2 separate regions of the Homo sapiens genome follow, and region 1 is linked to region 2. Evidence: promoter capture Hi-C in 16 types of primary human blood cells and fetal thymus (Javierre and others, 2016). All regions are on one chromosome and are shown on one strand. The core of a region is centred on a gene start or on the middle of the fragment in contact, and the rest is flanking DNA. Distances in the headings are between cores, read along the strand shown. Region 1 overlaps KIF1C (kinesin family member 1C). Region 2 holds the start of PELP1 (proline, glutamate and leucine rich protein 1).

Region 1 (4,017 bases), core at 1,518-4,017, 310 kb before region 2:
TTGGCCCAGGCAGCCTTACCCTGAACCCATGATAATCTGACAGTCTAGGGCAGAGCTCACAGCACAGCCCCTGGTGCCTGCCATCCTGTGTCTGAATCCAGTTCTGCCATTTTGTGTCATCTTTTGCAAATCACCTAACCCCCGAGAGCCTCAGTTCTCTCACCTGTGAGCTGTGTGAGAAAATGCGGACGCACAGAGTAGATGGTCAGTAAAAACCATTCTTCTACATCCATACCTGTCTGTGCTGCCCCCGTCCTCTCTGCCTGTTTCTGGCCAGGTCTTAAATCTGCTGTTAAGAACTGAGGCCCAGGCTGGGCGCGTGGCTCACGCCTATAATCCCAGCACTTTGGGAGGCCGAGGCGGGTGGATCATGAGGTCAGGAGATTGAGACCATCCTGGCTAACACGGCGAAACCCCGTCTCTACTAAAAATACAAAAAAATGAGCCGGGTGTGGTGGTGGGGGGGCGCCTGTAGTCCCAGCTACTCAGGAGACTGAGGCAGGAGAATGGCGTGAACCCGGGAGGCAGAGCTTGCAGTGAGCCGAGATCGCGCCACTGCACTCGAGCCTGGGCGACAGAGCGAGACTCCGTCTCAAAAAAAAAAAAAAAAAAAAAAAAGAACCAAGGCCCACAGGGACTAAACCATCACAATCCCCACCCTTGGCAACACAGAATCATTGGCTGCCTTTACTGTGACCTATGTCAGTCTTGCACACGGGTGTCATCTCTCCGCACTGTAGCTCCTTGCCCATGGGCTGGCTCTGCTGAGGTGTATTTTTGGTGGCCTGTATGGCTTTCATATCTCCCCCAGCAAATGGCTTGAGGTTGCCGCAGAACAGGAACTTGGCAATAACTCACTGGGCTGAACTGATTCAACAGCTTTCAACCCAAAATGCCGGAAGCATTTGCTGTCACTGAGGACTTGAACCAGACCAGAACAACTGCCTTGATTGGCTGACCCTGAACCATATGGAAACCGAAGAGGCATGTCTTTTTTTTTTTTTTTTTGAAACAGTCTCACTCTGTCACCCAGGCTGGAGTGCAGTGGCGCAATCTCAGCTCACTGAAACCTCCACTTCCCAGGTTCAAGCAATTCTCCTGTCTCAGCCTCCTAAGTAGCTGGGATTACAAGCGTTCGCCACCATGCCCAGCTAATTTTTTTGTACTTTTAGTAGAGACGGGGTTCCACCATGTTGGCCAGGCTGGTTTCAAACTCCTGACCTCAAGTGATCCACCCACCTCGGCCTCCCAAAGTGCTAAGATTACAGGCATGAGCCACCCCACCAGCCCCAAGAGGTATGTCTTAAACCTCACTGTAAGACGCACATGATAGCGTCTTTTGTTATTTTTTAAAATGTGCTGGCCGGGTGCGGTGGCTCACGCCTGTAATCCTGGCACTTTGGGAGGCCGAGGCAGGTGGATCACAAGGTCAGGAGTTCAAGACTAGCCTGACCAACATGGTGAAACCCTGTCTCTACTAAAAATACAAAAATTAGGGCTGGGTGTGGTGGCTCAAGCCTGTAATCCCAGCACCTTGGGAGGTCAAGGCAGGAGGATCACCTGAGGTTGGGAGTTGGAGAAACCCTGTTTCTACTAAAAATACAAAATTAGCCGGGTGTGGTGGCGCACACCTGTAGTCCCAGCTACTCGGGAGGCTGAGGCAGGAGAATTACTTGAACCCGGGAGGCAGAGGTTGCAGTGAGTCGAGATCGCACCACTGCACTCCAGCCTGGACGACACAGCGAGACTCCATCTCAAAAAAAAAAAAAAAGTGCTGACCATACACACCCCAGGTCCCTTGTCCCCTGGAAGGTGTTAGGCCAAGCACTCCTAGGTCTCTGAGGCACAACACACACACCAGGTCCAAGCTGACAGACAGCACATGTGTACCACGTCCTTCCTCCCTGCCCAACTCATTTTCACAGAGACTTTGCTTGAGCTTATGTGAACCCAAATCATTCTATTTTTTTTTAAGTGTTAGAACTAAAACAAACTGGTGGCCTCAAAAATACACCTCAGCAGGTGCAGTGGCTCACGCCTGTAATCCCAGTGCTTTGGGAGGCCAAGGTGGGCGGATCACATGAGATCAGGAGTTCAAGACCAGTCTGACCAACATGGTGAAACCCCGTCTCTACTAAAAATACAAAAATTAGCCTGGTGTGGTGGCGCGTGCCTGTAATCCCAGCTACTCGGGGTTGAGGCAAGAGAATCACTTGAACCTGGGAGGTGGGGGCTGCAGTGAGCCAAGATCATGCCACTGCACTCCAGCCTGGGGGAAACAGTGAGACTCCGTCTCAAATGATAAAAAAAAAAAAAAAAAAAAAAAAAAGCTGGGGGCAGTGGCTCACGCCTGTAATCCCAGCACTTCGGAAGGCCGAGGCAGGCGGATCACCTGAGGTCAGGAGTTCGAGACCAGCCTGACCAACATGGGAGAAACCCCGTCTCTACTAAAAACACAAAATTAGCCAGGCATGGTGGCACATGCTTGTAATCCCGGCTACTCGGGAGGCTGAGGCAGGAGAATTGCTTGAACCCGGGAGGTTGAGGCTGCAGTGAGCCCAGATCGCGCCATTGCACTCCAGCCTGGGCGACAAGAGCGAACACTCCGTCTCAAAAAAAAAAGAAAAAGAAAAAGAAAAAGAAAAAGAAATCTCGGCAGTCATAGCTGGATAGAGGCAGGTTTTCCACAGGGACAAGTTCCGATATTCAAATACAGGTTTTTGTTTAAAAAGGATCAGAGTGCTAGTTGTGGTGAACAAGATCAAGAAGGGCAGGATCTTCTCTTCAGCAAAATCCCACACTCTGGCTCACTAGTGTCCCATTTCTACCTTAGAACCCTCGCCAGTGCCTGACCACACAGTAGTCTGTCTTCTCAGGGTGGGTGCAGAGGGCTGGGCCTGTGGTATTCCTCCATTCATACCCATGAGCCCCAAGCCCCTCTGAGGACAAGGCCACATCCCCTCTTTATATGGCTGCACTCCCTGGTGCCCAACCCAGACCTCTGAGTTCAGTGTGTGGGGTGGAACATGGGGCCTCTCTCCCTGTCTGGCCTCTCTCACCCCCTCAGCCATTACCTTCTCCATCTGGCTGGGGGATGCTCCGGAACAGACAGTGTTGCTCCCGAATGAACTGTCCGGTCAGCTTGATGTCCATATCTACTTGGCCGACCCTGGGGAAGCAATGGCCAACGTTTGTGAGCATGTGCCAGACTTTAACCAAGCCCCTCCTGAACACCAGTTTATCCAACTCAATGAACCAAGCCAATTATTCCCATTTCACAGATGAGGAAGCAGAGGCTCAGGGAGGTGAAATGGCTTGCCCGGGTTCATTCAGTGGGCAGTGAAGTGATGCTGGGATCTGAGCCCAGGTCTGCCTGACTCTGAAGCCATGCTCTTAGTCACCATGTTATACAGCAGGCTCGCCAACTTCTCTTGAAGCTGGGAGAGCATGCAGGGCTGTGGAGGCAGCTGTTTAGAGATCTGAGTTATCTCCAGGGACCACCAGGGAAGGGAGGCACCAATGTGGCTAACCCTCAGCAGCCATACCCCAAAAGCAGAGGCTGCCCCCCGGGCCACTGGGTACATGCTACCTGGGTACAAGCAAACCTGGGAGAAACGGGCACCCTCAGCCACAGGCCTCCACCCATCCTTAGGTTGATGATCCTGAGAGCTCACTCCCTACCCAAGATGACTACCAAGGACAGCCACGAATGCCTGTGGTGGGAGGGGAAGGGCACCCTCACCCCTTTAGGGGAGGCACCGAGCCCCCATGACTTCATAATACCAGCCCAAGGAGCCACATGCCCTTAGCTGCCCAGCCCTCAACCGCACAGACCAGGCCGTGTTTCCCTTCTCCCGCCCCCAGGGAAGGCCCCACCAAGGGAGGCCAAGGCAATGGCATCAGGGTCTAAGAATGAGGGGGTCTATGTTTCCCAACTCTCCTGCCCCAGTAAACAAGGTTGTCTCGCCCTAACCAAACTGGCAGGTGGAGGCAAGACAGCCACTGAGCAGGCACGCT
Region 2 (6,266 bases), core at 1,927-4,426:
TGCAGTGAGCTGAGATCGTGCCGTTATACTCCAGCCTGAGTGAGAATAGTGAAACTTCGTCTCAAAAACAAACGGGCCGCGCGTGGTGGCTCACGCCTGTAATCCCAGCACTTTGGGAGGCTGAGGTGGGCGGATCACGAGGTCAGGAGATCAAGACCATCCTGGCTAACGTGGTGAAACCCTGTCTCCACAAAAAAGTACAAAAAATTAGCCGGCATGGTGGCAGGCGCCTGTAGTCCCAGCTACTTGGGAGGCTGAGGCAGGAGAATGGCCTGAACCTGGGAGGCAGAGCTTGCAGTGAGCCAAGATCGCGCCACTGCACTCCAGCCTGGGTGACAGTGCGAAACTCCATCTCGAGGAAAAAAGAAAACAAAAAACCTCCGAAAAACGAAAAATGAGCCAAATATAGTGGCTAGTGCCTAGAGTCTCATGTACTAGGGAGGCTGAGGTGGGAGGATCGTTTGAGCTGGGAGGTCAAGGCTGCAGTGAGCTGTGATCATGCCACTGCACTCCAGCCTGGGGAAATATTTTTTCAGCACCTTTTATGTACCAGGCACTGTTCTAGGTGATAGGAATAGCATAGTGTAGGAGACAGGAGCCCTTTCATGGAGTTTGTATTTTAGACAAGAGATAGTTAATAAGAAAGCAAATTTCTGGTAATGACATGAATTATAAACAGGCAAATGTGATGGAGGCTGATGGGGGTTGGAGTGGGAGCTACCGAAAAAGAAGTCGTCTCAGGATGGCAAAATGGCGTTAGTTACATAGAATCAAAGGACAGTTTCTCCAGCATAATCAGCAACATGTGCAAAGGTTCGGATGTGAGAATGGGCTTTGCTGGAAAATAGAAGGCTAGCGTGGCTCAAGAATAGGAAGAGAGAAGGAAAAGGGTACTTGTGGTATGTGTTGAGGTCAGGGAGGTGGGTATGAGTCAGATTGGGTGGATTCTTTTAGGCCTCAGTGACGAGATGGGATTTCATTCTCATCACATTTGGAAGCCACAGAGGGGTTGAAGCTAGGAGTGACAACAACTTGTTTACATTTGAAAAGACCACTTTGGTTGCTGTGTGAAGGGACTACAGGGTGCTAAGAGGGAAGCAGAGAGCAACGAAGGCTTTGTAATAGACTAGGTGAGAGTGAATGGTAATTTGGACCGGAGCGGCAGTGGAGATGGAGAAAAATTAACGCTATTGGGTTAATGTATTTTGGAGGCCTTGAATGCCAGGACTTGAAGGATTGGATAGGAGGCAATAAGAGGAAAAACGGGCCAGGTGGGGTGGCTCACACCTGTAATCCCAGGACTTTGGGAGGCTGAGGCCGGCAGATCACTTGAGGTCAGGAGTTTGAGACCAGCCTGGCCAACATGGTGAAGCCCCGTCTCTACTAAAAATACAAAAATTAGCTGGGCATGGTGGTGGGTGCCTGTACTTCCAGCTACTTGGGAGGCTGAGGTAGGAGAATCACTTGAACTTGGGAGGCGGAGGTTGCAGTGAGCCGAGATCGTGCCATTGCACTCTAGCCTGGGCGACAGAGAGACTCCTCAAAAAAAGAAAAATGATGACTCTTGGATTTGAATCTAACAATCACAAAAGTACACAAACATAAACATAGAGGTATTAGCGTGTTCACTACAGTTTGCATTAGCAAAAAGCTGGAGCAGCCTTTAAGCATTAATTCAGCAATAGAATTATTAAATCATGGTGCACCCATTTCATTCATACCACAGTTTAAAAAACAGCATAAAGAAGGCCATGAGTGAAAACAAGCCACACGCAGACCCCAATCTTGTAAAATATTCATTTATGTGCTTGTGCATAGACTAATATTAGGAAAGTATACACGCTACTGGGGCAGGGCTTTGCGGGGGAGGAGCAGTTTTTCTTTTTACTTTATGCCTTTCTGTACTGTTTGAATTGGCTTTTGCAAGGCGCACGTCTTGTATCATTTCTGAAGTTGCAAATGTAGTTAAAAATGTCTGTGATTTCAAGTTACCTAGAGAGTTATTGATTCCTTCTCTTTCCCTGCCGCTGCCGAGTTGCGCGGAGGCGGAGGCTTGGGTACCTTCAAGATTCAGCTTCACTTGTAACCCACCGCCACGGCCGAGGAAGGCATTGCTGCTGGAGGGGTAATGGATGTTAATACTGCTTCACAAGAGGTGCTGAAGACCGCTCTCATCCACCATGACCTAGCACGTGGAATTCGCGAAGCTGCCAAAGCCTTAGACAAACGCCAAGCCCATCTTTGTGTGCTTGCATCCAACTATGATGAGCCTACTATGTATGTCAAGTTGGTGGAGGCCTTTGTGCTGAACACCAAATCAACCTAATTAAGGTTGATGACAACAAGAAACTAGGAGAATGGGTAGGGCTCTGTAAAAATCGACAGAGAGGGGAAACCCCGTAAAGTGGTTGGTTGCAGTTGTGTAGTAGTTAAGGACTATGGCAAGGAGTCTCAGGCCAAGGATGACATCGAAGAGTACTTGAAATGCAAGAAATGAAGAAATAAATCTTTGGCGCGCGTACACACACACACACGTTACTGATTCCTAGGCAGGGTGCGGTGGCTCATGCCTGTAATCTCAGCACTTTGGGAGGCCAAGGCGGGCGGAACACCTGAGGTCAGGAGTTCAAGACCATCCTGGCCAACATGGTGAAACCCCATCTCTACAAAAATACAAAAAAAATTAGCCGGGCGTGGTGGCGCGCGACTGTAATCCCATCTACTCGGGAGGCTGAGGCAGGGAAATCGCTTGAACCTGGAAGGTGGAGGTTGCGGTGAGCCGAGATCGCGCCACTGCACTCCAGCCTGGGCCACAGAGCGAGACTCCGTCTCAAAAAAAAAAAATGAGAGTTATTGATTCCTACAGCGAAGATGTCCCAAGACTCCGTCCGCTAAATGGAAATCGTTCCGACTTTGGCGCCTTTTGTCCGGACCACGTGTACCTTTAACATCACAGGACCGCCTCGGACACGCTCACAGGCAGCCTCATCCGCCATCACTCCGGGAACCGAGCACCCCGCTGCCTCGGCGCCCAGGCTGCTCTCTCCGCGCATGCTCCTTCCCAGCTTGAGCCCGCGAGTCCAGCCTGCCTTCACTCAGTGCGCAAGACCGCAGCCCCCTCCCCACGCCCCCTCCCCAGTAGGCGGCCGTCGCGGTGTGTTTGCGTCATCGCGCCACGCCACCACTGGAACCCGGGGGAAGATGGCGGCAGCCGTTCTGAGTGGGCCCTCTGCGGGCTCCGCGGCTGGGGTTCCTGGCGGGACCGGGGGTCTCTCGGCAGTGAGCTCGGGCCCGCGGCTCCGCCTGCTGCTGCTGGAGAGTGTTTCTGGTTTGCTGCAACCTCGAACGGGGTCTGCCGTTGCTCCGGTGCATCCCCCAAACCGCTCGGCCCCACATTTGCCCGGGCTCATGTGCCTATTGCGGCTGCATGGGTCGGTGGGCGGGGCCCAGGTGAGTCCGTGGCCCGCGTGCCCGCGGCCCTGTGGGGAGGATGGCGCGGCACCTGTGCGCCGGGATTACGGTGCAGTGCAAGTGCGATAGGGAGGTTGAAGGAAGGAGAGCTGCGGGCAGAAAGGGGATCCAGGTATCAGTCCGGACGGGATGCACGTATTTCTCCTTTATCGGCCATGAGTTTCTCCAGGGGAAAAATGGGCCTTATTTTTCTGTTGTTAGGCTATTGGTCGGCACACAGGAATCGATTAGGTTCCAGGCCCGGTCACTCACTAGTTGTATAATCTAAAAGTCTCTTTTTCCTCTGGCAATATCTGTTTCGGGGATTGTTTCGACTGACTGAATGACGCATTCAACAATAAACATTTACCGAGCTCTTATTGAGGGTCAGATACTGTACTAGGCGCTCCGGTTACAGACGTGGTGGCGATACACAAAATGCTGCGAAACAAGATGAGAATTGAATATCAGGGGTCTCTAACCTTATCTGAAGACTGGCAGAGATTTTTCCAAAGAAACCGGCGTTTAAGCTGAGACCCTAAGGATGAATAGGGGTTGGGTAGGGAAAAAATATGGGAGGGGCTGTTCAGTCAGAGGAGAGCTCATGTGGGAAGACCCTGTGGTAGGAAGGAACTGGAAAGAAGGGCATCGTTCCTGGGGCTCAGATGTGGAGGGGAAGAGAGTGGGTACAGATGAGACTGGTGAGATGGGTAGGCAGTGGTCGGGTCATGCAGAGCGTTTTAGGCCGGGTTAGGAGCCTTTGGACTTCTATAAGAATGGAATCTGATAACCATTCAGTTCTGCAAGCTAGACACTCAAGTAATTCTAAACTCTTCTTCATACACCTCCATAAGCAATCTGTCAAGTCCTGTTGATTTTATCCTTTGAGTAGTTTTCAGATCTGTCCACTCTTTTCCATCTTTCTCATTGCTCCCATTCTAGCTTGAACCCCCACCATCTTGTCCGGGTGAAGGCACTGATTCTAAGAAGGCATATTTCTAGCCCATAATAGCTGCTCCTTATAACAATCTCCTATCTTCCCTTCTCTCCCACTAAACCTCCCCCAAATTCTACCCATCCTTCAAGACCCATAAACACGAGATCTTCTGTGTCCACCCTTCATTCCTGGGACCTTCCTAGCTCTATGCTACCTTCCAGGAAGATGGTTGTCACAATTTGCTGGGTGGGTCAATAACCTTAGCCCCAGATTTATCACAGATAACCCTATCTGTTTGTCTTTAACATTACTCTGCATAATTGAGGGTGACAAAACTATATCTCTGCTATCTCAGCCCAATATCAGAGGCTGGAGCTGATTATGTATTTTCTCTTGTCTCTAAATTCCCCTCTTCTAATTTATGTGGTTTTCATCAGTCAGTTATATTACAGTGGGGTTTTTCTGTTTTCTTTATCTCACAATAGTCCCAGAATTATTATTATTTTTGAGACAAGGTCTTACTCTGTCACCCAGGTTGGAGTGCAGTGGCATGATCTTGGCTCACTGCAACCTCCATTTCCCAGCCTCAAGGGATCCTCCCACCTCAGCCTCCAGAGTAGCTGGGACCACAGGCATGCGCCACCATGCCCGGCTAATTTTTGTATTTTTGGTAGAGACGGGGTTTTGCCATGTTGCCCAGGCTGGTCTCAAAGTCCCGAGTTCAGGCGATTCACTTGCCTTGGCTTCCCAAAGTGCTGGAATTACAGGCACGGGCCACCATGCCTTGCCCCCCAGAAATTTTTTTTATAAGTATTTGTGAAATATTACCTATCCCGCCTATAAATGTGTGATTTCTTTCATCATCTCTTTCAGGACTTCCTCTCCTCCCTCAAAGTCAACTACATGAACTTAACGTCTTGCTTATTTTTCTTACATGTCTGAAGTCTAGTAGAATTTTGAGTAAAGAAGCTAAGAGTGATGTGGGAAACTAGGGCCGCCCTTTAATATTTCCTGTGCTACTTGTTTAGATACATCCTGCCTTGAATTTTTTTTCTACTTGTGTCCTTTGAATTGGGATTATGTGGAGGATTTCCTTTCCTTCCCCAAAGGTTTCATTCAACAAACATTTATTGAGTATCTGTTATGTTTTACGTACTGTTCCTCGTCTCTAGGTAGATAAATAAGACATGGTCCTTTCCCTCAGAGAATTTCTAGTCTAGTTAAGATGAGAAATGAAAGTCAGCAATAGACCTGGAGCTTGCGAGCAAGGGGGATCCACTGTTTGATCATCCACCTACCAACATGGCTTTTCCGCAGGTACTGCAAGCTCAGTAGTTCCAAAATGGAATGATCCTAGCACAGTGCTCCATATCTAGCTTGGAGTATATTATAGCAACAATCTTCTAACGGGTCTCCTTACCTTCAGTCTTGCCCTCTGTAATCCGTTCCCCACACAGTAGCTGGAGTGAGCTTTCTAAAGTAAAATTCTGATCCTGTTTGCAGCTTTTAAAAATCCTTCAGCCTCTGGGTGTTCTTTCCTCAGAGGCTTTGTACTTACTCTTCTCTTGGAATCCCTCCCTGTGCAGTGCCCCCACCCCCCCAACTCTCATCCTCCTTCCCAGTCTTCTCAATTCTTTGCTTATTTGTCACTGCCTTTGGGATATATTTCTTGGCCACCTATGATTGACTGCTCTTTATCCTACTGTCTGTTTATTTATTTCACATATACTTATAACCTCTCTCCCCTACATTCAGCAAGTCTTTGATTTGTTCTTGTATGTAATTAATAAAACTTATATAAAATTTCAGACATAAATAGTATTTTCCCCACCCCACCCTATGCTGCCCCCATCACTCAAATTTAACAGTGAACGTTTGC

The links. Contacts are between HindIII fragments. The CHiCAGO score rates a contact against its expected background, and 5 or more counts as called.
Region 1: a contact is called between a fragment that was not itself captured here and the fragment with the promoter of PELP1 in region 2, in 1 of 17 cell types (neutrophils). The highest score is 6.1, in neutrophils.

What each region holds. Positions count from the first base shown.
Region 1 is chr17:5,013,895-5,017,911 of GRCh38, reverse strand. KIF1C (kinesin family member 1C) reads right to left here. Exons shown (of 23, transcript NM_006612.6): 18 at 3,075-3,169. Among named protein-coding and RNA genes, the nearest start is that of KIF1C-AS1, 4.2 kb to the left of the region's middle. The HindIII fragment of the contact is 9,804 bases long and covers 1-4,017 here.
Region 2 is chr17:4,701,047-4,707,312 of GRCh38, reverse strand. It overlaps PELP1 (proline, glutamate and leucine rich protein 1), which reads left to right and starts at 3,176. Exons shown (of 17, transcript NM_014389.3): 1 at 3,176-3,450. The coding sequence starts at 3,202. It overlaps PELP1-DT (PELP1 divergent transcript), which reads right to left and starts at 3,083. Exons shown (of 2, transcript NR_103482.1): 1 at 2,943-3,083; 2 at 1,784-2,114. It also overlaps the pseudogene RPS12P29. The HindIII fragment of the contact is 30,411 bases long and covers 1-6,266 here.